2 separate regions of the Homo sapiens genome follow, and region 2 is linked to region 1. The links are contacts of gene promoters, found by promoter capture Hi-C in blood cells and fetal thymus (Javierre and others, 2016). All regions are on one chromosome and are shown on one strand. The core of a region is centred on a gene start or on the middle of the fragment in contact, and the rest is flanking DNA. Distances in the headings are between cores, read along the strand shown.

Evidence for each region. The method cuts DNA at HindIII sites, captures the fragments that hold promoters and counts their contacts. A CHiCAGO score of 5 or more calls a contact.
Region 2: a fragment that was not itself captured here is called in contact with the fragment with the promoter of CRYBG1 in region 1 in 10 of 17 cell types (neutrophils, M2 macrophages, M1 macrophages and 7 more); the score reaches 13.4 in neutrophils.

What each region holds. Positions count from the first base shown.
Region 1 is chr6:106,355,699-106,362,123 of GRCh38, reverse strand. CRYBG1 (crystallin beta-gamma domain containing 1) reads right to left here and starts at 1,407. Exons shown (of 22, transcript NM_001371242.2): 1 at 1,043-1,407. The coding sequence starts at 1,215. RefSeq lists silencers at 1,297-1,376, 1,397-1,606 and an enhancer at 535-1,401. The HindIII fragment of the contact is 8,941 bases long and covers 1-6,425 here.
Region 2 is chr6:106,996,246-107,002,493 of GRCh38, reverse strand. No RefSeq gene overlaps it. Among named protein-coding and RNA genes, the nearest start is that of CD24, 25 kb to the right of the region's middle. The HindIII fragment of the contact is 1,804 bases long and covers 2,447-4,250 here.

The DNA of each region.
Region 1 (6,425 bases), core at 158-2,657:
GTGGCGGGCGCCTGTGGTCCCAGCTACTCGGGGGCTGAGGCAGGAGAATGGCGTGAACCCGGGAGGTGGAGCTTGCAGTGAGCCGGGATTGGGCCAGTGCACTCCAGCCTGGGTGACAGAGCAAGACTCCGTCTCAGAAAAAAAAAAAAAAAAAGAAAGAAAGAAATAAAAGGAAAACCATGTCTAAAATGCAAATTTTGCACAATTTTATTCTGGCCCTCATAGGGTGTATTTTAAAAACACATTTGGAAGGATTTACTGGACATTGTCAATTGTCCATCACTATAAATATTTCACACCTCTGAGCCATGTAAATACGCTGTTACTTCAAATTGATTATTATTCAACGAATGCATAAACTCTGATGCTATAGTTGAATAATTATACATATAGAATAAAACCACTTCAAAACCATGATAAAAATCAAAAAGCACAATGGTAACTACAGTTTTGATAACTAGGTGCTCTCTAGCTCTGCCACTGGCTCCAATGGGGAGAAGCCATTTATCCTTTGGTCTCAGTTCCTCCACCCATGAAATGGGGGTAACCATTCCTGCCACTTCCTCCTCCCTTCGTATGTTGCGAGGAGAATGGGGGTATAACATCTGTAAGAGCACAGATCTTACAGATATTCACAATAAAGAGCTTTACAATAAAGACACTAGCTCAAAAGCAGTGCCTAACCCCAAAGCAGAGTTCCCGCCATCATTTAGGACGGTAACAACCCTCACTCCCCGCCGCTCTGGTTAGCAGGCTGATGCGGGAGGCTCCTGCATGAAAACTTTGCAGTCATACTAAAGGCCACATGCGTGGGCACAAGTTCCTCTCGCCGGTGCTTGGTCTGAACCAAAAGCCGCGAGGAACCTCGTCAACCCCAGCGGCTACGATCGCTCCCCTCCGGACCCGGGTACCCTCCTGCGGACTGAAACAGACCCCGGGGCTTTCCCCTCCTCCAAGTGGGGTCAGGAGTCCAAGGGCTAGCGCAGCAGGAGAAGGAGGAGGAGGAGGAGGTGGGACTGGAGGGCTCGGGCGAGGAGCTCACCTGGCCTCTCCGGCAGGCGCCGGGAGCGGGTGCGGAACGAACACCCCACAGTCAGGCGGCGCCGGCTGCTGCTTCTTTTTGGAGCGCCAGAGGTGGAAGGTGGTGTGCTTCTTAGGGGGCCTGCACGGGCTGGGCTCCCCGGGGTCGCCCTGGGCTGGCGGGGACAGCGGCATCGTCTTGTCCTCCTCCCGCTCCGACTGCCGGGACGCGGTCCTCTCTGCCGCCCGGGCCCTATGGAAGAACACACCTGAGCGCCAGCTCGCCCGCCTTTCTCAGCGCGCCGTGGGACCCCGCCCCCTCGTCGCGGATGCGGGGGGACGGCCGCGGGTTGCAGAACCAGCACCCAGCGCAGCGCGAGCAGCACTGCAGCCCGAGCTGTTGGGGCGGAGGCGGGGACCCAGCCGCGGAAGAGCGCCCCCGCGCGGCGCGGGCGGCAAGGGGCGCTAGCCCAGGTGAGGCGCTCGCGCCGGGAGCCCCAGGTGAGGCAGACACGCCCCGGCTCCCCACCCCGGGGGCGCGCGGCGGCCGTGGGACAGCGACACCTACTGGATGCTCTGGGCACCGCGACTCCCGACACTGCATCCCAGGCTCTAAGATGGGACCCAGAGCCGGGTCGGGCTTCCACAGCGCCTGGGGTGCAGCGGCCATTGTCGCCTGCGGAGTTGTTGGCCGCTCTTGGCCTGTGACAGGCTGGCAGGGTGAGTCGCTGCTTAGCCACGAGCCCCGCCTGGAGAAGGATGGGAGAGGCACATCCCGGGGCTGGGCCGCCCAGCAATTAGGACTCTTCCACTCTGATCTCTGGGTGGCTTGGGCAATGTCATGTGCTGGTGGCTTCTGTTCCTGTTCGTGAACACGGGTGGCAACTCCGCCAACTCGTCTCCTCTCTCAAGAGTCTGAATAATTAATTTGTACTCACATCTCATAAAACACAAAAGGATTAAAAAAATTAAAAACGCCAGAAGGGAATTAGGCATATTCCCCAATTCCCCAAGAGCTTAATAGATCCCTCGCAGTAAATTAAATGCCAGTCCCACAAGGTATTTACATCATCTGCATTACTGTTGATGACTTTCTTGTCTTAACTTCACAGTCGTGGCTAAATAGCAAAGGAAATTAATACTTAAGCAAAGTAAGTAAACGAACAATTATTTTGGGCATCATTAGAGCAAAGAAAGTGCAAGAACTAAGCACTACTTAAAAATTCAATGCAGTACAAGATCCTCTTTCACGGTAATGTCTTTATTTTCCTCTTTGAAAACACAACTCATTCATTCGTTTATTCACTCATTCAAGGAACATTCATTTTTATTTGTTTTTATTTACATTTTTATCAAGATGTAATTTATAGACAGTAAAATGCACAAATCATAAGGGTAAAACTCAAATTTTTACATATTTATGTGGTTGGGGTGTGAAAAGTTTTTTAATGGAGAGTTGACATTGTCCTAGAAAATTCTTCCGTATGTGGCTTTTAAATGTATGATTATAGGCCAGGAGCGGTGGCTCACGCCTGTAATCCCAGCACTTTGGGAAGCCGAGGCAGGCAGATCACTTGAAGTCAGGAGTTTGAGACCAGCCTGGCCAACATGGTGAAACCCCTTCTCTACTAAAAATACAAAAAAAAAATTAGCTGGGCGTGGTGGTGGAGGTGCGCCTGTAATCCCAGGTACTCGGGAGGCCGAGACATGAGAATCGCTTGAACCCAGGAGGCAGAGGTTGCAGTGAGCCGAGATGGCGCCACTGCACTCCAGCCTGAGCAACAGGATGAGACTATGTCTCAAATAATAATAATAGGTAAATATATATGATTATAAAAATATAGAATACTTTCAAAACTTTAAAAATCTCCCTACTGTCCTCTTCCAGTACATTACCCCTCCCACCTGTAAAAGTTAACCATTATTTCATCCTCTTTTGCTGGAGATTAATTTGACCTTTTCTGGAATTTCATTTTAGTGGAAAATCACAATATGTACTCTGTTTCTGGTTTGCTTTGCTCAATATTAGTCGGTGAAAATCATCTATATTGTTGCTTATATTGTAGCAGTTTTTTGTCTTGTTTTGTTTGAGACAGGGTCTCACTCTGTCACTCAGGTAGGAGTACACTGTTACCATCACCTCTCACTGCACTCACTGCAGCCTTGACCACCTGAGCACAAGTGATCGTCCCACCTCAGCCTCCTGAGCAGCCAGGACTACAGGCACACACCACAGGACCGGGCTTTTTTTTTTTTTTTGGAGGGGGTACATTTGTAGAGACTGGGTTTTTCCATGTTGCCTAGGCTGGTCTCGAACTCCTGAGCTCAAGTGACTTGTCCGCCTCAGCCTCCCACCAAAGTGTTGAGATTACAGGGGTGAGCCCCTGCACCTGACCCATAGCAGTTTTTCATTTAAAAAAATTATTGTATACTGTTCCATGATATGAATATGCCACAATTCATTTATCCATTATTGTGGATGGACATTAGGTTGTTTCCAGTTTGGGGCTATTATGAATAAAATTGATATGAACCTTCTGAGATGTACACATTCATTTCTGTTGGATACTTATACCCGGAAGTTCAATCGTTGGGTAATACAATATGCATATGTTCAGCTTTAGTGAATTCTGCCAAAAAAGTTTCCCATTTATATTCTTTCTAGCATGTTTGAAATTTCCAGTTTTTCAATATCTTCATCAACACTTGATATTAACAATCCTTTTCATTGTGGCCATTCTGATGGGGATGTGGTGGTATCACATTGCAGTTTTAATTTATATTTCCTCAAGAAACAGTTATTGAACTTATTGAGTACTGTACTAATTATGTGCCAGGCCCTGACTTGGGGGAGGAGGCAATGACAGATGCATAGATTATATCATATATATATATATATATATATATATATATATATATATATATATATAAAATCATCTGATATATATATCATGTGATATACATATATATGTACACAAACACACATCAAAGGCTAAAAGAATCAGTGGTGGTATGTACAAGGTATTAGGGGAGTTTAGAAAAGTTACTAACTTAGCGTGGTAGTTTGGAAGGGAGGAAGGGGAGTGGTCAGTAAAGATTTACTATGAAGATGGCCCTTGGATTGAACCTTAAAGGGCAAAGGGAACAGTAAGAAAAGGCAAAGAAAAGGGAAAGGGAAGAAGGGAAAAGAGAAGAAAAGGGGGAAAAGGGACAAGAAGAAATCTTTATGCACACTCAAAAATATTTCTACGTTCAGTAACTTAGTCTTTCATTCCTGGCTTTTCCAAGCAGAATTTTTCACTCCACCCCTCCTTTGTGCCACCAGTGAATCAGAAACATATTTTTGTTATCACACCTTTCAGGTTGCATCAAACTGGTTTACATTTCTATATCTCCTATTAGCCTCAGAGAAACTTAAGAACATTTCTCATTTATTCTTATATTTTCCAGACGCAAATGTCCAGTAAGTAAAGTAAGTAATCAAATGAATTGGTGTACTCACTCAGTTGGACACCTAGGATGTTTCAGACAGGTCTTTTTTTCTCTTTTTTTTTTTAAGAGATGGGGTCTCTCTATGTTGCCCAGGCTGATCTTGAACTCCTGAGCTCAAGTGATCCTCCTGCCTCAGCCTCCCAAAGTGCTGGGATTACAGGCATGAGCCACCATGCCTGGTCTCAGACAGATTTTTTAAATTGTACACTTCATAAGAAAAAATCTTACAAGTCTCTTTTTCTCAATTATGTCCTCAATGACTAGCACAGCGTATGGCGCAGTGTAGGCACTCAACATGTATTTGTTATAAGAGTTAAGAAAGTAGAACTCTGCATAGAAGGATAAGACACAGTACCTGAGAGTAATGTAGTGGGAGAGACAGATACTTAAGAAAACATGAATAGTGAAACTTGGTAAGTGTCCTAACCAATGTGGGTCAGTTGTTGTTTTTCAGTCACTGCAAGAACGAATCCACTCAGACTTATTTAGGCAGTAAATTAACCTACCACGGGATTTTAGGTGGCCCATAGAATATTCGACAGAGCCAAACAGCAAGACTGAAGCCCAAGCATCCTCAACCACTCCAGGTAGCTGTTTTGACAAACACCACTCTTACCATCTCTCAGCACTATGGGCTACATGACAGCCACTCTGCCACTGGCCACCCCAAGGATCAAAGGCCTCTTCACACCCATCTTACCAGAAGATTAATTTCCTGCCTCACACCCATTACCAGCGCATGTATTGCTCACTTCAAGCAAAAAAGTTCCCTGCAGGTACATCTGATTAGAAGAGCCTAAGTTATTTAACTGTTTCCTAGCTACAAGGGAAATTTGGGATCTGGGGCTTCTACCTCAGAGAAATGGAATTCATGTGGCTAAAATTTGCCAAACATAATGGAGGTATTCAAAATAGGCAAGGCAGCCAAAAGTGTGAACAGTGGTGACTGCTGGAGGAATGGGCAAAGGGCTACGGGAACACAGAAGAAATGACTAACTCTTCTGATTGGCTCAAGGAAGTCATCAGCAGGGAGGTGACAGGTTTATGAGCTTAACTAATGCATAAGAATTTGCTAGATGAAGAAGAGAGGGTGGACAGTCCAGGAAGAGTAAACAACATGGGCTGAGGCCCAGGCTTGTGAAAGGACATGCATTGCTGGTGAGGAATAATCAGAAGCTCAGTGATGCTGGAGAAGAGAGGGATGGGGTGGGGCAAAGTGGCAGGAAGTGATTCTGGTAAAATCAGGTATAAATCATGCATAGATGATATATATCAAAGACTAAAAGAATCAGTGGAGATATGTACAAGGCTTTATGGGGGTTTAGAAAAATTACTAACTTAGTCTGTAGTTTGGAAACGAGGAAGGGGAGTGGTCAGTAAAGATTTACTGGATTGCTAAGCACTTGGTAAGTCATGCTTTTAAGGAGTTTGGACTCAGTTTTGTAGGCACCAGGGACCCAGCTTACATTATTAAGTAGAGGAGTGACACGAACAAACTTGGGTTTTATAAAAAGTACCCTGGATGGAGTGAACTAGGAAGAAACTAGGAGAGTGAAACTATTTGAGGGAGACCAGCTAAGAGGTTGGTGCAAGAGGTCAGGTAAGAGGTGATGGGATCCCCTACCAAGGCAGTGGGATAGGAATGGAGAGGAGGGGATGGACACAAGACACATGTAGAAGATGGAATCACCAGGACTTGTAGTGAGTGAAGAAGAAGCCATCAAAGATGACTATGAGGTTAGGTTTCCAGCTTAGCTAAATGGATGGAAGAAAAGCCATTAACTAAAAAACAGAAATATAGGAGAAAGAAAGATCAGGTTCTCTGGGCATGAAAATAAATTAAGTTTTAAACACATTGAGATATGGCGTCTATATAGGCAGAGAGGTCTAAGAACTCATTGAAAAATATGGTT
Region 2 (6,248 bases), core at 2,099-4,598, 640 kb before region 1:
ATTCCAATGTTTAATTTACAGAAAAACTGAATACCCCTTTAATTTTAGCCAATATGTTCACACACAGAATTTTTTTTTACATTTAATTTTTTTCGCAAATCTCTCATAACTTGTTTAAACCTTTAGATTTTTCCTATCTCACTCAAAACAATTCTTTAACCCTTTAATCTAGGCAAAAAAAAAAAAAAATCCACATTCCCATGACTTCTTATCTTTTACCAAAAACACACTTCACTTTTTTTTTGTTTTGAGACAGAGTTTCGCTCTTGTTGCCCAGGCTGGAGTGCAATGGTGTGATCTCGGCTCACTGCAACGTCCACCTCCCAGGTTCAAGCAATTCTCCTGCCTCAGCCTCCTGAGTAGCTGGGATTATAAGCATGCACCACCACGCCCGGCTAATTTTGTATTTTTAGTAGAGACGGGGTTTCTCCATGTTGAGGCTGGTCTCGAATTCCTGACCTCAGGTGATCCGCCCGCCTTGGCCTCCCAAAGTGCTGGGATTACAGGTATGAGCCACCGCACCCGGCCACATTTCACTTTTTCTATACACCTTGCACGTATAACTTTTTTTTTAGTAGTCCCAAATATATGTTACACTGTTAACTCTTAGCAACTTTTACTTTTGGTGAAAACCTTGGTAAGTTCAGAATTTTTTTTTTAGACGGAGTCTTGCTCTGTTGCCAGGCTGGAGTGCAGTGGCCCGATCTCAGCTCACTGTAACCGCAGCCTCCCGGGTTCAAGTGATTCTCCTCCCACAGCCTCCCAAGTAGCACCACCATGCCTAGTTAAATTTTGTATTTTTAGTAGAGACAGGGTTTTACCATGTTGGCCAGGATGGTCTCAATCTCTTGACCTCGTGATCCACCTGTCTCGGACTCCCAAAGTTCTGGGATTACAGGCGTGAGCCACTGTGCCTGGTTGAGTTCAGATTTTTAATTATGTGCTAGGTGTGGAGCCTGTGACAGTAGACAGAAGTGCAGATAAGGTCTGACTCTTTTCGTTGTCTAACTTCATGTGTCCCAGGCCTTATCTAGCTGTAAAGCAGGAAAGTTGTACAGTTAAGAGTCCTAATGGCATTTTATGAAGCATTTAGGAGACCCAGAAACCTTTAACTTATATATTTCTTGCATAAATTCCCTTTTTTAAAGCAATCAGTCATTTTACTTTAGGACAAGTATTCACCATACAACATCCTTTCTTATACAAAATTTCTTCTTTTATTTCTTTTCTTTTCTTTCTTTTTTTTTTGAGACAGAGTCTTGCCCTATCGCCCAGGCTGGAGTGCAGTGGCCCGATCTTGGCTCACTACAACCTCCACCTCCCGGGTTGAAATGGTTCTCCTGCCTCAGCCTCCTGAGTAGCTGAGATTACAGGTGCCTGACACCACTCCCGGCTCATTTTTGTATTTTCAGTAGAGATGGGGTTTTGCCATGTTGGCCAGGCTAGTCTAAAACTCCTGACCTCAAGTAATCCACCCTCCTCGGCCTCCCAAAATGCTGGGATTATGAGTGTGAGCCACCACACCCAGCCTTAAAATCTTTTCTTTATAACCTTCTTTGCATAGCTAGGGGGCATGGCTAATTCCACATATCCTAGTCTTTATTTAGAATCTAATGCTCCAAAGTAGGTAAATTGAACAATTTTCAAAAGACAAAGAAGCACTTTATGACCTTAAAGCATTTAGTAAACTTAATATCTGACTTGCATAATTTAGACCAAATGCTTACTTTTTTTTTTTTTTTTTTTTTTTTGAGAGAGTCTTGCTCTGTCACCCAGGGTGGAGTACAGTGGCGCGATCTCGGCTCACTGAAACCTCCACCTCCTAGTGCAAGCAATTCTCCTGCCTCAGTTTCCCGAGTAGCTCGGACTACAGATGTCCACCACCACGCCCGGTTAATTTTTGTATTTTTAGTAGAGACGGGGTTTCACCATGTTGGCTAGAATGGTCTCAATTTCTTGACATCGTAATCTGCCCGCCTCACCCTCCCAAAGTGCTGGGATTACAGGTGTGAGCCACCGCGCCTGGCCGGGAGTTTCTTTATTCCATTTCAGCAGGGCCAGAGATGTCCATGAAGGCCTTGGTGTGTGATGGAACAGACAGTTGTCTAAGGGGTGCACAATGAATGCAAGTTCTTCCCATCTCCGAGTCAAGGGTTTTCTGGGAAACAGTAGGGGATAACAACTTTCATAAATTTATACAATTATATACACTGAATTTATACGATTATGTACGTATATAATTATGTACATATTTGATTGTGTACACTGAGAAGATTAAGCCAACTCTTTCAAACTCATGGAGTTTACTTCTTGAAATTGAAAGGCCTCAGAGATAAGCCTCAGAACCAAGTTCCCTCTCTTGACTTTTCCCAGCTTTTCTGTCTCTTTGTTTCTCTTTCTTTCCCAGGAACTCTCTCTGGAATTTCCTTATCTGACTAACAAAGCTTCTTTCCAAAATAAATGCAATTATTTTAAGACCCCTCTCTCTAGGAACCTCATCAGATAGCCAGGAATGATCAACTACCCGAGAATAGAAGAGACTGGGAGTCATCACCATACCCAGATAGACTTTCCATCTATTTTTATTTTATTATGTAAATTTTAAATTATTAGTAAAAAAAACCTTTTTTTTTGAGACAGAGTCTTGCTCTGTTGCCCAGGCTAGAGTGTGCGATCTTGGTTCACTGCAACTTCTGCCTCCTGGGTTCAAGCTATTCTCCTGCCTCAGCCTCCCAAGTAGCTGGGATTACAGGCACCTGCCACTGTGCCCGGCTCATTTTTGTATTTTTAGTAGAGATGGGGTTTCACCATCTTGGCCAGGCTGGTCTCGAGCTCCTGACCTTGTGATCCACCCGCCTTGGCCTCTCAAAGTGCTGGGATTACAGGCGTGAGCCACCGCTCCCGGCCAAAAAAAATTTTTTTTGAGACAGCAGCTCACTCTGTCAACCAGTGTGGAGTACAGTAGCGAGATTACAGCTCACTGCAGCCTCTACCTTCCAGGGTCAAGCAATCCTCCTAACTCAGCCTCCACCACTTCAGCCTCCAGAGTAGCTGGGACTACAGCTGTGTGCCTGGCTTTTGTGTTTGTGTGTATGTGTGTGTGTGTGTGTGTGTGTGTGTGTGTAGACACAGGGTTTTGTCATGTTGCCCCGGCTGGTCTCAAACTACTGGGCTGAAAGGGCCCTCCTACCTCAGCCTCCCAAAGTGCTGGGTTAAAGGTGTGAGCCACTGTACGCAGCCTTCAACTATTCTTCTTCTTTTTTTTTTTTTTTTGAGACGGAGTCTCCCTCTGTCACCCAGGTTGGAGTGCAGTGGCTTGATCTTGGCTCACTGCAACCTCCAATTCCCAGGTTCAAGTGATTATCCTGCCTCAGCCTCCCCAGTAGCTGGGATTACAGGCACTTGCATCCACACTGGCTAATGTTTGTATTTAGTAGAGACAGGGTTTCCCCATGTTGGCCAGGCTGGTCTCAAACTCCTGACCTCAGGTGATCTGTCCGCCTCGGCCTCTGAAAGTGCTGGGATTGCAGGGGTGAGCCACCGAACCAGGTGGAGCTTTTAACTATTCTTCTGACAGCAGCCCTGAGAGATTGCCTGGGAGACTTTATCTGCATAATAAGACAACATTGATGGTCTGGGCGGTGGCTCATGTGTGTGTGTAATCCCAGCACTTTGGGAGACTGAGGCAGGTGGATCACCTGAGGTCAGGAGTTTGAGACCAGCCTGACCAACATGGTGAAACCCCGTCTCTACTAAAAATACAAACATTAGCCGGGCGTTGTGGTGCGCACCTGTAGTCCTAGCTACTGGGGAGGCTGAGGCAGGAGAATTGCTTGAACCCGGGAGGTGGAGGTTGCAGTGAGCCAAGATCATGCCACTGCACTCCAGCCTGGGTGACAGAGTGAGACTCTGTCTCAAAAAAAAAAAAAAAAAAAAAGAACACTTGTTCACAGTAATAGTCCACCCCTCACCTTCCTGCCGCCTTCCCCAGTGCTCAAAGGAACTTTGTCCCCAGCCATCGTTCTTTGGCTCATTCATTTCCTTTGGAAATCATTTACTCCTACAACCCCTGTCTCCCTTTCCCCATGGAGAAGAATATAAGCAGCCGGGCCTCATCGGGTTACTGGGTAATCATAGTCTTGTGATTTTCTTCTATGCACATTAAGTAAATTTCGTATGCCTTTTTCTCCTGTGTATCTGCATTTCATCAGTTTATGCTCTGCAAACCTTCAGTGGGCAGAGAGAAAGCTTTCCCTCTGCCCCCAGTGTGGCAACAGGCCTGACTGGGGCAATGCTGCTGCCTTGCTTTTGACGCCCCCCACACACGACCGCGTCCCCCTTTCTGCTCTGTGGAACGCCTCCAGCCCCTGCTGAGGCTGGCTTGCCCATGGCAGAATGTCACCTCAGGTTGGGGGCCTTTCAAAATGCACCCCAGAGAGCTCTCCTGGGAGCCCACGTCTGGAACGTAGAGCTGAGTGTCTCTGGCTGACGTTGGAGGATGGGCAGGCTGCCCATGATGCAGCCCCTTTCCTGCTCTGGCACAGCCTTGACCTTTAAATTTCTCATTCTTTTTTCTTCTTCCACTAAACTCTAAGAGATAAGTGTTTGTCTCTCCCGTTATTCCCCTAAGAGCACCTCTCACTGGACTGGGGTGAGGAGAAAGCGCCTTTGCTCTGCAGTTCCTGCAGGGGGCGCTTGGCACCTCACTTTGGAACCTGAGAACTTGTTTTGTTGAAGGCCTTTGAGCTTCGGTTGAAATGGAGACAGAAAGGACTTCCATGTTCACATCCTGTTACACTCTCCAGCATAAATATGATCATTTTCATTTTACAGGAGGCTCAGAAAGGCAAGTCTGTGGTGGAAGTGGGTGAGCTGAAATCTGAGCTCAGGTCTGCTTGATCCTGTAGGTTACAGATGAGACAGAAATGATATGCCCTGTTGTACCCAGGGTGGCCACATCTGAGGCTCTAAGACAAATAAAAAATTACCACCATAGTGGAAAGATTAAATTCTCATGTACAACCAAATCAAAGTCTTCATATACAGTTAGAATAAAACACAAATTTCAGAAGAATGACCCACATACGTGTCGGTTTATTAGTGAGTGAAGATGTGTTTTAGAAACTGGTTATATAAATCAAAAAACTACCATCGAAGGGCTCTAAGATTAGCCAGGAGGCTTAATAGTATCCTAATTTAAGAGTTACTTGAAGATATTTTCTAAGATTGCTGTTTCTGTTGAGATATAAAATGGCTCTTAGCCTAGGATGTTAATAAATTCAAGATAAAGTGAGTAGGCGGAGTTAGAGTAAAAGGTGGCCTTCCTCTCATTGTGCTTGGATTCTGGTGGTTCCTGTGTAGAAATTCATTTGCTGAGGACTTATTATGTACTAGGCACTTTACTAGGTACTGGGGAAAGGAAGATGAACATGATGTGGTTCCTTTCTTTAAGGAGCTCAGCTGGTGAGGAAAAAGCTGCAATCCCTGTTACACGTACAATGACAGAGGAAAGCTTGGGGACTTGGGGGATGCAGGGGTGGACACTTCAGAAAGGCCCTAACCAAGGCTGAAGGGTAAGGGATGGCTTTCCAAGGAGATGACACTAATCTGGGTCCTGAGAAATGCATAGAAATCATCCAAGCAAAGAAAGACCTTGGCTTGCGTTCTTCCTTGTGTTGTGCTGGGCCCCCAAACAGGCAAACTGGGAAGGCACAGTCACCGAGAGACCGAAGAAAAGACCTGAAGACAGTGGGTAAGACATAGAGTTTAGGGCGGGCATGGTGGCTCACACCTGTAATCCCAGCACTTTGGGAGGCTGAGAGGGGCAGATCACCTGAGATCGGGAGTTTGAGACCAGCCTGATCAACATGGAGAAACCTGGTCTCTACTAAAAATACAATATGAGCTGGGCATGGTGGCGCACGCCTGTAATCCCAGCTACTCAGGGGGCTGAGGTAGGAGAATCACTTGAACCCAGGAGGCAGAGGTTGCAGTGAGCCAAGATTGTGCCATTGCACTGCAGCCTGGGCAACAATAGTGAAACTCCATCTCAAAAAAAAAAAAAAAAAAAAAGACAGAGTTTATTCAGGGGACTTATGTATGGAGTGTCCAAGAGTGGAAGGCTGGACAGGAGTTCCACTGCCTTTTGTGGAAAGCATGCAGGTTAGTAGGAACTCCCACACAGCAACCTCTACTTAGCAACCTCCACCTAGCTTAAAACAAAGGCCATTGATTTATTTTTTTTTCTT